Linked DNA regions of Homo sapiens: regions 2, 3 and 4 are each linked to region 1. Evidence: promoter capture Hi-C in 16 types of primary human blood cells and fetal thymus (Javierre and others, 2016). All regions are on one chromosome and are shown on one strand. The core of a region is centred on a gene start or on the middle of the fragment in contact, and the rest is flanking DNA. Distances in the headings are between cores, read along the strand shown. Region 1 holds the start of ACBD7 (acyl-CoA binding domain containing 7). Region 2 holds the start of RSU1 (Ras suppressor protein 1). Region 3 holds the start of PRPF18 (pre-mRNA processing factor 18). Region 4 overlaps FRMD4A (FERM domain containing 4A).

Region 1 (3,047 bases), core at 337-2,836:
CATGAAAACGCAAATATTTTAAAAATGTAGCTTTATGCAAAAGCAAGCTGAAAGGTTTCTTGTTGCATTGTTGTACGTTGAAGCTCAGTCACTTTGCTGACATTGAGTTTCTTTTTTCTCCCAGTCACCCTTCTCCACCAATGCTACTATTTATGCGAAGTGTCGGAAATTAGCTTCTCATGTGACCACCCAATTCGGTTCCAGTCCTTTGGAAATGTAATCCTATTCGGTGTGTCTGCAGACTTGGAGTGACATTGGGTTTGTTCCCCTAGAAAACTGAGTCAAATTGAATAGGCGTTTAGTCCTGTGCCTTTACCATAATTAAAAACAAGTTAAGCTGATTATAGCATGTGTCCAGAATTTAGGTGGTTTTGCTTTATAAAGAGAAGAGGTGCAAACCACAGGCCACTTTCTCTCATGATAAACAGCGCCTGGAGGCAGCGTGGAGGAGACACATCCATCATCCACGTTTCTAGGAATAATGGACATGAGAGAAGTATGTATAAAGAAGGAATCCTGTGCTTCGGGAAGCCGAGGTGGGAGGATCGCTTGAGGTCAGGAGTTCGAGACCAGCCTGGGCAACCTAGTGAGACGCCCCCCCCACCACCTCTCTTAAAAAAAAAAAAAACACATATATATATATTTTTTAATTTGCACTTTTAATTTATAAAATTTTTAATTTTTAACATTTTAAATATATATAAATTTATATATAATTTTTAGAGAAAAAATATATAATATATATATACCTAGGAAGACCCCAACCTCTGAAAAAAATTTATATATATAAATTTTTAATTTATAAAATTTTAAATACATATTTACTTATTCTTTTTTTTTTTTGAGACGGAGTTTCACACTTGTTGCCCAGGCTGGAGTGCAATGGTGCAATCTTGGCTCACCACAGCCTCCACCTCCCGGGTTCAAGCGATTCTCCTGCCTCAGCCTCCCGAGTAACTGGGATTACAGGTATGCGCCACCACACCCGGCTAATTTTGTATTTTTAGTAGAGACAGGGTTTCTCCATGTTGGTCAGGCTGGTCTCGAACTCCCGACCTCAGGTGATCTGCCGGCCTCAGCCTCCCAAAGTGTTGGGATTACAGGCGTGAGGCACCGCGCCCGGCCAATACATATTTACATGTATAAATTTTTTTAAATTGAAAAAATTACATATGTATTTTAAGAGAGTTGGGGCGGGTCTCTCTAGATAAATATATATCTCTCTCTCTATATATATATATATTTTTTCTCTCTCTCTCTCTCTCTCTGTCTCTCTCCTTCTTTCTTTCTTTCGAAGGCATTCCAGGGGAGGCCTGTGCCCTACGGAGACCTCTCTGGGTTTCCTGCAAAGAACCGCTTGAGAAAGAATAGAAGAGAGAGCCAAGAGCGGAGAGAAACTCATTTAAATTCTCCTGTCTTCGCCTTTCCATTTGCAGCCTGGGGAACCCGGCGTGCAGTACCGCTCACCGCCCAGCCTCGCCCCCGCGCCCGCGACCAATGGGAGGCGGCCGGGCCGGGAGCGCGGCCAATGGCAGCGGCCGGAGGAGACGCGGCCGTTTAAGAAGCGGTGGGTGCGAGAGGGGGCAGAGCACCGGACGACAACAGCAGCAGCAACAACGCGGCAGCCGCCACCATGGCCCTGCAGGTACCCGGGGCGCGGGGAGGCCACGCGGGAGGGGCGCTCCGCGAGGGGAGTGCTTAAGTGGGGCTCCGGGTGGGCTTGGCGCCCCTGGGAGCGGTCGGCGGTGACCCGGGGGACACGCCCACTCCTTCCCCAGCGCCCCAGATGGCAGTGTAGACCGCACCTGTGCCTGCTGACGGCGAGCCAGGGCTCCCAGGGCAACCCTTCCGGACCCCAGGGGCCGGGTGAGCGGAAAAGCAGGCAAGGCAGGAGCGCCGGGGAGCACGGAGCGGGCCTCCTCCTCTCCGTCTCCGAGAGGGAGTCGAGATCCCCCGCTCCCGCCCCTTCGCTCGTTGGGACCTCCAGGACCTCTCTTAGTGTCATACTGAGCAGAAGAGATCTGTGAGGCTCCAATTTAAAAATACTGTTTTATAGGTATGTGAAAAAAATTGTTAAGGGTGGAAAACTTTGGAAAAGACAACAAATATAAAGTAATAATTACTGATAATAATCCAATGATAATTCCTTCACCCAGGTGATAATCACTGCTACATGCTAGGGTAATTCCTAGTATGTCCTAGTATGTTATTTTCCATGTGTGTATGTGTGTGGCATATATCTACACACATACCTATGATGTTATTGTGTATATAGTTTTATTCCTACACGTAAAACAGTAATATGAGCATTTTCTCATTATTAAATATTCTAAAATGTAATTTTATTTTTCTTTTTTGAGACAGAGTCTCATTCTGTTGCCCAGGTTGAGGCGCAGTTGGTGCGATCTCTGCTCACTGCAACCTCTGCTCACTGCAACCTCCACCTCCCAGGTGTAAGCGATTCTCATGTCTCAGCCTCCGCAGTAGCTGGGGTTACAGGTGCACGCCACCACGCCCGGCTGATTTTTGTAATTTTTTTTTTTTTTTTTTAAGATGGAGTCTCATTCTGTCACCCAGGCTGTTTGAGATGGAGTCTCACTCTGTCACCCAGGCTGGAGTGCAGTGGTGCAATCTCAGCTCACCGCAACCTCCGCCTCCCAAGTTCAAGTGATTCTCCTATCTCAGCCTCCCAAATAGCTGGGATTATAGGCGTGCGCCGCCACTCCTGGCTATTTTTCTCTATTTTTAGTGGAGATGGGGTTTCGCTGTGTTGGCCAGACTGGTCTCCAACTCCTGACCTCAAGTGATCCACCCGCCTTGGACACCCAAAGTGCTGGGATTTCAGGCGTGAGCCACCACGCCCGGCCTCTAAAATGTAATCTTTTACATGCACAAAATTTCATAGAACGTGGCTCACTTCTTTAACCATTTCAGTCAGGCAAGACGTTATCCTGCGTAAAGTTGTAATACATACTTCAGGGCCATCTGGGTTCAAATGTGTGCCTCACTTCTACTTAGCCTGTGACATAGTTAACCTCTCCGTGCCT
Region 2 (3,047 bases), core at 319-2,818, 1.7 Mb before region 1:
TAAATGTATTAGGAGATTACCTACTAATACGTATTGATGAAATTATGAAGTTAGAAAATCATCAGTGGATGCTAAAACTTGTGGGTAAAAATTAGATGAGGAATGGGGTGTAATCAAGTAGCACCTCCCCCCAGCATTATTTTTAATCATAAAGAAAAAAATAGTAACTTTATGGTGAAGAAACCTGGCAGACACTACCTTATTTAAGTGAACATCACCTATACTGGGAGAAACCGATGCCATCTGTACCTTGATATCATGCACTGGAAAAGACACATCGCTTTAGTGGTGTTTCTCCAAAAATTCATAACCTGAAAGGGAACATCAAACTTACTTTGAAGGATATTCCACACAATACCTGGTCTGTATTCTTAAATAATGTCTAGTTCAATAAACATAAAAGCCAAGGACGGTTCCAGATCAAAGAAGACTAATGGAGGAATAACTCTTTCATCTGGAATGTTTTTTAAGCAAGAAATACCTGCTTTCGAATTTAAGAGTGCAGATCCTTTTTTTATCCAATTGGTTCGGAGATATAATTACATTATTTTACCACATCTCCTTAAGGCTTTGATCCCTGCTACAATCTACAATATATAAATGCATATGTGTGGCATCCGTCTTATCATCAATTTAGGTGACCAGTAGAAGAAAAGTGCCTGGTGCCAATTTTTATTCCATAGTATAAAATAGTCTCTCAGGACAGGGTTTTTGGTGAGAGAAGCACAGGATGTTGCTGGGTGACTGAGACTGGGTCAGGAAATAGGGAGGCAGAGGGCAACAGTTTCTCTAGAATTTAAAATTTGGTTGCTTTTGGAAGAGAAAGCAAGAGATTCCTGGAAGCCAGAACGTCATGTTTCACAAATGTAAAAGTCCTAGTTGGGAAAGACACATCGCTTTAGTGGTGTTTTCAAATGACTTTTAAAATAGTAGGGTTTTACTTGTAGGTTCTAGCTACAAGTAAAAAGGCTAAAAGCCAGCCTTAGAAACCTGTCAAAAAAGATTTCCAGCAGGGCGCTGGGGAAACGCAGACCGCGCCGGAATCCCCGCCTGGAGAAGCTCTTAATAGGGCGGGAAACTGCGTGCCCCACAAGGTCCCTCAGAGGCACATTGTGGAGACGGGCTCAGGGTAGCAACTTCTGGCGAGTGGAGCGGCTATTACACAAGCGAAACATTCGGAAGCAATTTACTTCCAGCTTTCGCAACACCCACCCTGAGCCACCACCCTCCCTTACACAGTCACGCCACAAACTTCCCCACTTCCGCCCACAGCCCTCTGGGCTTCGACCCATCAACTGAGCTTGCGCCAAGTCTACTGCGCACGCGCCAACTTCGGCCCAATCAGCGTCCCAAACCGTGGGGTGGACGCCACCGGGATAAACTATCCTCAGCGTGGGGCGGGGTCTCGAAGCCGAATAACGAACGTGATTAGCCAGCCTCTTCCACAGACTTTTAAGGGCGGAGCCTGGCCCTGGAGACACGTCTGGAGAGCTGTTCTCCTAATATGGGTAGGGTCGGGCGTGGAGCTGGCAGCGGCGCTGTGTGCGCCTGCGCGGGGCGCCGAGACAGGGCGTGTTCGCTGTTCAGTGCCGGTGTTGCAGGGAGTGAGGGCAGCTGGAGTGCGTTCTGCCGAAGCTTGTGGTTGCACGCCCATCGTCTTAGGGGCTACCTTCCGTGGTGAGTGTGTGCGGTGTTGCACTTGGGGTTGCTTCTCGCTGCGTGGCCGCAGCGGGGCTGAACCCTTCCCACTCCATCCCCTCCCCGCACCCGGACCAGCCCCTGGGACGCCCTCGGACGCCCACCCGCTCCAACCCTGGGGAAGCCTCAGAGTGGCAGCGAAGGCCTCTTGCCTTTCCGCCTCTGCGCTTGCTGTCATCGCCCACGTGCTTTGTTGTTGTTCGGTGCAGACCATGTCCAAGTCTCTGAAGAAGTTGGTGGAGGAGAGCCGGGAGAAGAACCAGCCCGAGGTGGACATGAGTGACCGGGGCATCTCCAACATGCTGGATGTCAACGGCCTCTGTGAGTTCTCGGGCAGGACTCTCCCGTGGATGAGCTGGAAGGCTTTCTAAGTTTGCCAATTCACTGCTGGTCCTGCTGTGAGCGATTGTACTGGTTTAGACCCCAGCCCCTGCTTGTAAACCTCACTTGTCAGGGGCTTCGCGCAGAGGGTTTGCAGTAGGATTTGTTCTGTTCCACCTGGAAAACGATCCTGAGAGTCCACGATGAGAATCACACAGACAGCTGTGCCTCATCGGTTGTCTCTGCTGTATGGCATTGAGGTGGATTTTCCACAGTTTGCTTAATAGTCACTTTAATTATAAATTGAAAATTAATTTTGAGTCCTTCTTCCTGTCTCCTAATACAGTCTTTGTCCATGAACAAATGACACAGAAAAGTTCCATGGTTAATAAGCATTCTTGTGCCTGGAGCGTTTTAAGCATTTCTTGAATCTTTACATTCTTCTGAGTATTTATTCTCCGAACTTGGTTCAGGCTTTTGTCACCTCCTCATGCTGTGGTGAAATCCTCCTAACTTGCCCTCTTGCCTTCAGTTTCACTGCCCAGTTTAATCACTGGGTCACTTTCAGTGTCATTTTCCTGTAACCCCTGTCTATGGTGTTACCCTCTCCCTTAAAACCAGGGATTGCAGATTCACATGCCTCCAAGTGAGGGCGGTCAGGGGCGGTTATGAACTAGGTGATAGGTGTCCCACTTGAAGGGGCCAGCTGCTGCACCTGCTACTCAGACACATGTCACCATAGGAATGTTGGCCCAATGTGCCAGATTATTTTCTTAAAGGAACCAAGATTCTATATTTTTATGTGAAATTTGCTAATTTTTAGATGTTGGCTACTAATTCTAATATTTGAAAAACCTGTGATAAGTGAGCTAAAGCAGTTCTTCAGGCTGACGTGGCTTTGGTTTAAACCCTCTCCGCACTTCTCCAGGTTGTCCATTATCGACGGTAATGCTCCAGGTTTCTTGGCGTGATGTACAAGGCCTTTCTGAATCTGAACACAACCTTACCCTTCCATGCAGCTGGCATTC
Region 3 (3,047 bases), core at 232-2,731, 1.5 Mb after region 1:
ACCACCACACCTGGCTAGAAGGAATTTTTTTTTTTTTTTGAGACGGTGTCTCACTCTGTCGCCCAGGCAGGAGTGCAGTGGTGCGATGTCGGCTCACGGCAACCTCCGCCTCCCGGGTTCAAGTGATTCTCTGGCCTCAGCCTCCTGAGTAGCTGGGATTACAGGCGCGCACCACCACGCCCAGCTAATTTTGGTGTTTTTAGTAGAGACGGGGTTTCACCATGTTTGCCAGGCTGGTCTCGAACTCCTGACCTCAGGTGATCTGCCCACCAAAGTGTGGGGATTACAGGTGTGAGCCACCGCGCCCGGCGGCCCTTCCTCCATGTTTCAGTTGGGCACAAACCCTTCGTAAGGCGACAGAAGGGAACTCTCAGGAGCACTGGGGCACGTCCGCAGAATGCCAACAGGTAGGAGCGGGGATAGGGGGCAGTTAGGTAAACTGGAGGGAAACAGGGTCAGTCGGGGGAAAACAAACAAAGCCTCGGGTTTTCCTGCAATTCCCACACCTGCATCCCTAAGGCTCCCAAGTGGTTACCGGAAAGAAGGCCGTGAGTGTAAGTTGCCCGGGTCCTTGGCGTTTTGAACAAAGAATTGGACAAAACGCACAAAAAAAGTAACAAAACACAGGAATGAAGCAGCAAAAGTAGGGACTTATGAACGCGAGAAAGCACTCCACAGGGTGTGAGTGGGCCCGAGCAAGCGGCTCGAGGCCCCGGTTACAAAGTTTTCCGGGTTTTAGGTACTCCTTCTGAGGTCCCTATCAGCTACCCCGTATCTGGATGAAGGGTTCGGTCTGTGGCTAAAGACTGAGGTGAACTGGCGCCCTATGCAGATGAAGGGATGGCCCGTGATTGGCCCACGGCCAATGCAGGGCACGTTCCCTTCCCATCTGAGAGGTGGTGGAAAGGCAGGGATGCGGGGAGAGCCGCAGCCTGAAGCCTTTGCTACTCGGTGGTGGGAAGATGAGGATTTTTCTTTTGGTTTGGCTTTTGGACGTGGGCGTTAATTGGCCTCAGGTTCCCGCCCCCAGACCCAGGTGTTTTCCTTTTGATCCAGCTTTGGGAAGTCAGCACGAATTGTACTCAAGTTCCCTGCTCTCAGACCCTATTCTCCAGCCTCAACAGTGAGACGCCAAGGGTTGGATCTAAGGGGGCCTACCAGGGGTAGTGGCAGGACACTCGCTAAGCCCCGTCCCCGCCCCGAATCCTCTGAGTATCGTCACCCTCACCCCAAAACCCCGACACACATACTCTCACTCTTACATCCCGACCCCCACGACCGCAGGGTCCTCACCACCAGCAGGTTCCTGTCCTCCACCAGCTGCCGCTTCCGAAGGATCTCTGATTTCAGAATGTCCATCTCGCCGCCAGAATTTAAGCTCCAGTTTCCCGCTCCAGCTCCTCGAACCCAGCCTCACTGGGCCGGCGGCCGCGAACCCACTGAGTATACGGAACAACAAGCCCAAACACCTGAGAACAACTGACAGGAGCCGCTTCCGGCGGAAGCTGGGATGAGAGAGATGAGGGAAGAGAGTGGCCCGGGGCGCCTGTGGTGGCCAAAGCAGCTGTGCGTGAGTGCCCACTGGCGGCGCCCTCCGGCAGCGCGCCTGTAGTTTCCCCTCGTAGGGAGGTTTACGTGAACGTGGACGGAAACCCGGGTCTTTGTAGTACTCTCTGCACCTGCTAGTTGAGTTCCAAAAGCCTCTCGAAGAACACCTCAATAATGCCAGTTAAATCAAGATCTTTATTAACTGGAAATTTACATTAGGGTTTCTGAAGTTACTTGCTTGCAAAATTTGCAAAAGGATGAGAAAAATCTAAACAATAATACTAACTTGTAACAATAGAGTGAAAGGGCTGTCTGTTCATTACTAGCCTGTTAAATTTCCTGTGAACTTAAACGACTACAACCATTTAAAGCAGTTTGGAAGTCAATTTATCTTCACTCCCTCTGTTTTAGATTGCTTACCAATCTTGGTGATAATTGAACATTTACCTCAAGCTAACTAATCATTTTTTGGTCATGTGTTCAGCAATCAAGATTTTTCAGTGACATGATTGGAGATGTAATCAGAAATTCCTTTTTTTTTTTTAAATCCAACCCAAGGGAAAAAAAGTTAAATTGAAGAGAAAAATTATGTCAGAGATTTTTTAAGTCCCTAACATTTGTTTACAGTGGACTTATTTTTTTCATGTCATTGAAGCACGTTTAAAAATTGTTTTTGTGAAATCATAATTGAACAATATTTGACATTTCGTTTTTCTTACTCAAAAAAGGTAAGAAATATCATTTTGTTGAGTCAGCTGATAATGGGTAAAATGCTTTACAAAACAAAAAAATGAACAATTGAATTATTTCAATTTAGAAAGTCTTTTGTGGGGGGTGATACTTCATCTAAAAGATATCTGAGGCCAGACGGGGTGGCTCACCCCTGTAATCCCAGAACTTTGGGAGGCCGAGGTGGACAGATCACCTGAGGTCAGGAGTTCAAGACCAGCCTGGCCAGCATGGTGAAATCCCGTCTCTACTAAAAATACAAAAATTAGCCAGGCGTGGTGGCAGGTGCCTATAGTCCTAGCTACTCAGGAGGCTGAGACAGGAGAATTGCTTGAATCCGGGAGATGGAGGTTGCAGTGAGCCGGGATCATGCCACTGCAGTCCAGCCTGGGTGATAGAGCAAGACTTTGTCTCAAAAACAAAACAAAATAAAATAAAATATACCTGACTTTTGCCAGAAATAAGCCAACACAGGAAAATGTCCTTGAACTAAATATGGCAACACTCTTGCATGAATATGGGTTTCCCTCACTAATCAATGAGCAAATAATAATTTATTAGCATTTTCCTGATTTAGGGATTAGGGATTGTTAGACACAAAAAAAACCTGAAGGGTTAAGACAGATGACAGTAACAGCAATGGAAGTTTACAGAGAACACAACGGCTGGCTACCTGGGAAACTGTCAGTGTAAACCAGAGAAGTTACTAGCTACAGTTAACAGCCTCCCCTTACATTTTAGACTTTCATTGATTTCTACGTTTATGTAAA
Region 4 (3,047 bases), core at 407-2,906, 1.3 Mb after region 1:
TGAAGCTAAGGGCATCAGTTTGTTCACCTTATACGATGTTGGTCTCTTGTTTTTGCTGCTGCTGTTGTTGTTTACATTGTAGTCAGTTTCCAATATTTAAAAACCAGTGGACTTCTTAGGTAGAGAACCACTTCTTCTTTTACGGTCTGAAGAACAGAAGCCCAGCAGGATGATGTGACTGCCCTGAGTCACACAGAGCTGGGGACTCCATCACTGCTCTCTGACTCCCTCCAGAGGATTCTGGCCCTCAGATTATAACACTATTCTAGAAAACTGTAGTACTTGTTTCTTCTCATTTCACCTTCCTCACCTTCTGCCTCTTCTTGGTGAACCCAGTTTCCAAGAGCCCCAGGTACCCAGCACCCTCCTAGTCCACCCTAAGGGTTGCTACACCTGCTCAGAACCTTCTTCCCTCCAAGATGTTGCATTTCAACCTTTCCCCTCTCTTCCTTTCAACTCCTAGTCCTTCAGTGCGGCTGGTCATTAGACAGTACAAGCGCATTATCTCATTAAAGAATTTAATAAACTCCAAAGTCAATATTATAAAGGCACATTTAGTGTAAACTTAAATAATGGCAGCATGTTTCATCTTGAAAATATCTATAAGCTCCATCTAGATGAAATCCGATTCTCATTTGGCTTAATATGCATTCATATCACAGTGTTAAGAGCACTTAGCATAGCTCTCCGAATGTGCAGAAATCAAATCACACTTCACCACCTTCGGGAGTAGTAGTAACCATTTCAAAGAAAGCTGTGATTAAGAAGAAATTATCTTTTAAAAATCCAACTTGGCTGGGCACAGTGGCTCACATCTATTACCCCAGCATTTCGGGAGGCTGAGGTGGGCAGATAATTTGAGCCCAGCCTGAGCAACAAAGGAAGACTCCGTATCTACAAAAAAAAAAAAAAATTAGGCGTGGTGGTATGCAACTGTAGTCTCAGCTGCTCAGGAAGCTGAGGCGGGAAGGTTGCTTGAGCCTGGGAGGTCAAGGCTGCAGTAAGCCATGCACCACTGCACTCCAGCCTGGACAACAGAGCGAGACCCTGTCTAAAAAAAGAAAAAAAAGGAGAAGAAAAGAAAATCCAACTCAATGACAATTTAGGACAAACAAGCAATGTGATGAAAACAAATAACATTATGTAAAATTATAAAGCAGATAGGACAAAGAAATCAGAGGCCTAGTTTTAGAATTTGTTCTTACAAATTGGTGGTAGACCCAGTTCTTTGGTTATGGTGAGGCCCATTAGGCGTGACCCTAAGCCACTATCAAAACTCCAAAAACAGTTTGTCCTCCCTAGGGAATCATAGAAAAACCATGGATGGTGCCTTTTTCCTTTGTTTATTTAGGATGGGGAATGCCAGCTTTCATCTCAAATCATGTAGCTCAAGAGAGCACTTTATTTTCTGCACCTGCTGTTTCTGTGGTTCACGCACCATTTTTCTCTTTCAGGTTCTATATAGAAAGCATTTCATACCTGAAGGATAATGCTACCATTGAGCTTTTCTTTCTGAACGCGAAGTCCTGCATCTACAAGGTAGGAACTCCCTCTCCCTCAATTTCCCTCTGAAACCTGAAAGTATCATTTGAAGCTGGAAATTCCAAAGTGTTACCCCTTAGGCCATTTTATTGATTAGGAGAAGTCATTTATAAATTAATTACTATAAATAAATGGAATGTTATGAAGCTAACGGCACCATTTAATAATGTGATTCCTGACCCGGCGCGCTGGCTCACGCCTGTAATCCCAACACTTTGGGAGGCCGAGGCGGGTGGATCACGTGGTCAAGAGATTGAGATTATCCTGGCCAACGTGGTGAAACCCTGTCTCTACTAAAAATATAAAAATTAGCTAGGCATGGTGGCACATGCCTGTAGTCCCAGCTACTTGGGAGGGTGAGGCAGGAGAATTGCTTGAACCTGGGAGGTGGAGGTTGCAGTGAGCTAAGATCACGCCACTGCACTCCAGCCTGGTGACAGGCGGAGACTCCATCTCAAAAAAAAAAAAAAGGAATAATAATAATAATAATAATAATGTGATTCCTTTGATCCATGGCTGTGTTTCTGGCTCTGTGGACATGTTTCCTAACCTTATTTTAAAGGTCTCCTGATTTTAAAGATTTCTTTGTCAACTGAGACAAAGGTGAAAAGCCTAGACAAGTATGACAAATGCACCAGTCAACTTAGACAGGTCTTGCAGATAGGAATGAGCTTCTTATAACCAAATACGTGTATATTTGACCATTTTTAGTTGGTCTAGCAGCATCTTTCAAAGGGACGCTATTGTCACTTTGAGACAGTTTCTTTTTTAAAAAAAATTGTAAAATGCACATACATTTACTATCTTAACCATTTTGGAAAATATTTTTATATTTCCATAGGTTTTTGGGGAACAGGTGGTATTTAGTTACATGAGTAAGTTCTTTAGTTGTGATTTGTGAGAATTTGGTGCACCCTTCACTCGAGCAGCATACACGGAAGTCAGTTTGTAGTCTCCGCCATTTTTAAGTGTGCAGTTCAGCGGCATTCAGTACACTCACAATGTTGTATAACCATCCCCACCGTCATTCACCCAAGAGCTCTTTTCATCTGCTAAACTGAAACTCTGTACTCATTAAACAACTTCCCCTTCCCCGTTTTCCTCAGCCACTGGCAACCACTACTTTTTGTCTCCATGAATTTAACCACTCTAGTACTTCATATAAGTGGAATCATATATATTTGTCCTTTTGTGTCTGGCTTACTTTACCTAGCATAATGGCCTCAAGGTTCATCCATGTTGGCTGTGTGTGGTGGCTCATGCCTGTAATCCCAGCACTTTGGGAGGCCGAGGCAGGCGGATCACCTGAGGTCAGGAGTTTGAGACTAGCCTGGCCAACATGGCGGAACCCCATCTCTATTAAAAATACAAAAATTAGCCAGATGTGGTGTTTTGTGTCTGTGATTCTAGGTATTTGGGAGGCTGAGGCAGGAAAATCTCTTGAACCTGGGAGGTGGAGGTTACAGTGAGCCGAGATCATACCACTGCACTCCAGCCTGGGCAAC

The links. The method cuts DNA at HindIII sites, captures the fragments that hold promoters and counts their contacts. A CHiCAGO score of 5 or more calls a contact.
Region 2: the fragment with the promoter of RSU1 here is called in contact with the fragment with the promoter of ACBD7 in region 1 in 5 of 17 cell types (fetal thymus, neutrophils, activated CD4 T cells and 2 more); the score reaches 9.2 in fetal thymus.
Region 3: a contact is called between the fragment with the promoter of PRPF18 here and the fragment with the promoter of ACBD7 in region 1, in 1 of 17 cell types (total B cells). The highest score is 7.3, in total B cells.
Region 4: a fragment that was not itself captured here is called in contact with the fragment with the promoter of ACBD7 in region 1 in 1 of 17 cell types (total B cells); the score reaches 5.7 in total B cells.

The regions. Positions count from the first base shown.
Region 1 is chr10:15,087,315-15,090,361 of GRCh38, reverse strand. ACBD7 (acyl-CoA binding domain containing 7) reads left to right here and starts at 1,586. Exons shown (of 4, transcript NM_001039844.3): 1 at 1,586-1,645. The coding sequence starts at 1,634. ACBD7-DCLRE1CP1 (ACBD7-DCLRE1CP1 readthrough) reads left to right here and starts at 1,586. Exons shown (of 8, transcript NR_144471.1): 1 at 1,586-1,645. RefSeq lists a silencer at 1,412-1,801. The HindIII fragment of the contact is 6,812 bases long and covers 1-3,047 here.
Region 2 is chr10:16,815,945-16,818,991 of GRCh38, reverse strand. RSU1 (Ras suppressor protein 1) reads left to right here and starts at 1,568. Exons shown (of 9, transcript NM_012425.4): 1 at 1,568-1,677; 2 at 1,908-2,019. The coding sequence starts at 1,911. It overlaps LOC105376435 (a long non-coding RNA gene), which reads right to left and starts at 1,293. Exons shown (of 3, transcript XR_930708.3): 1 at 1,236-1,293; 2 at 250-311. RefSeq lists enhancers at 950-999, 1,030-1,119, 1,150-1,259, 1,930-2,089. The HindIII fragment of the contact is 3,392 bases long and covers 1-1,637 here.
Region 3 is chr10:13,585,399-13,588,445 of GRCh38, reverse strand. PRPF18 (pre-mRNA processing factor 18) reads right to left here and starts at 1,481. Exons shown (of 10, transcript NM_003675.4): 1 at 1,294-1,481. The coding sequence starts at 1,359. RefSeq lists enhancers at 416-1,011, 1,187-1,526. The HindIII fragment of the contact is 3,512 bases long and covers 1-3,047 here.
Region 4 is chr10:13,781,414-13,784,460 of GRCh38, reverse strand. It overlaps FRMD4A (FERM domain containing 4A), which reads left to right. Exons shown (of 25, transcript NM_018027.5): 6 at 1,455-1,539. Among named protein-coding and RNA genes, the nearest start is that of PRPF18, 200 kb to the right of the region's middle. The HindIII fragment of the contact is 4,685 bases long and covers 1-3,047 here.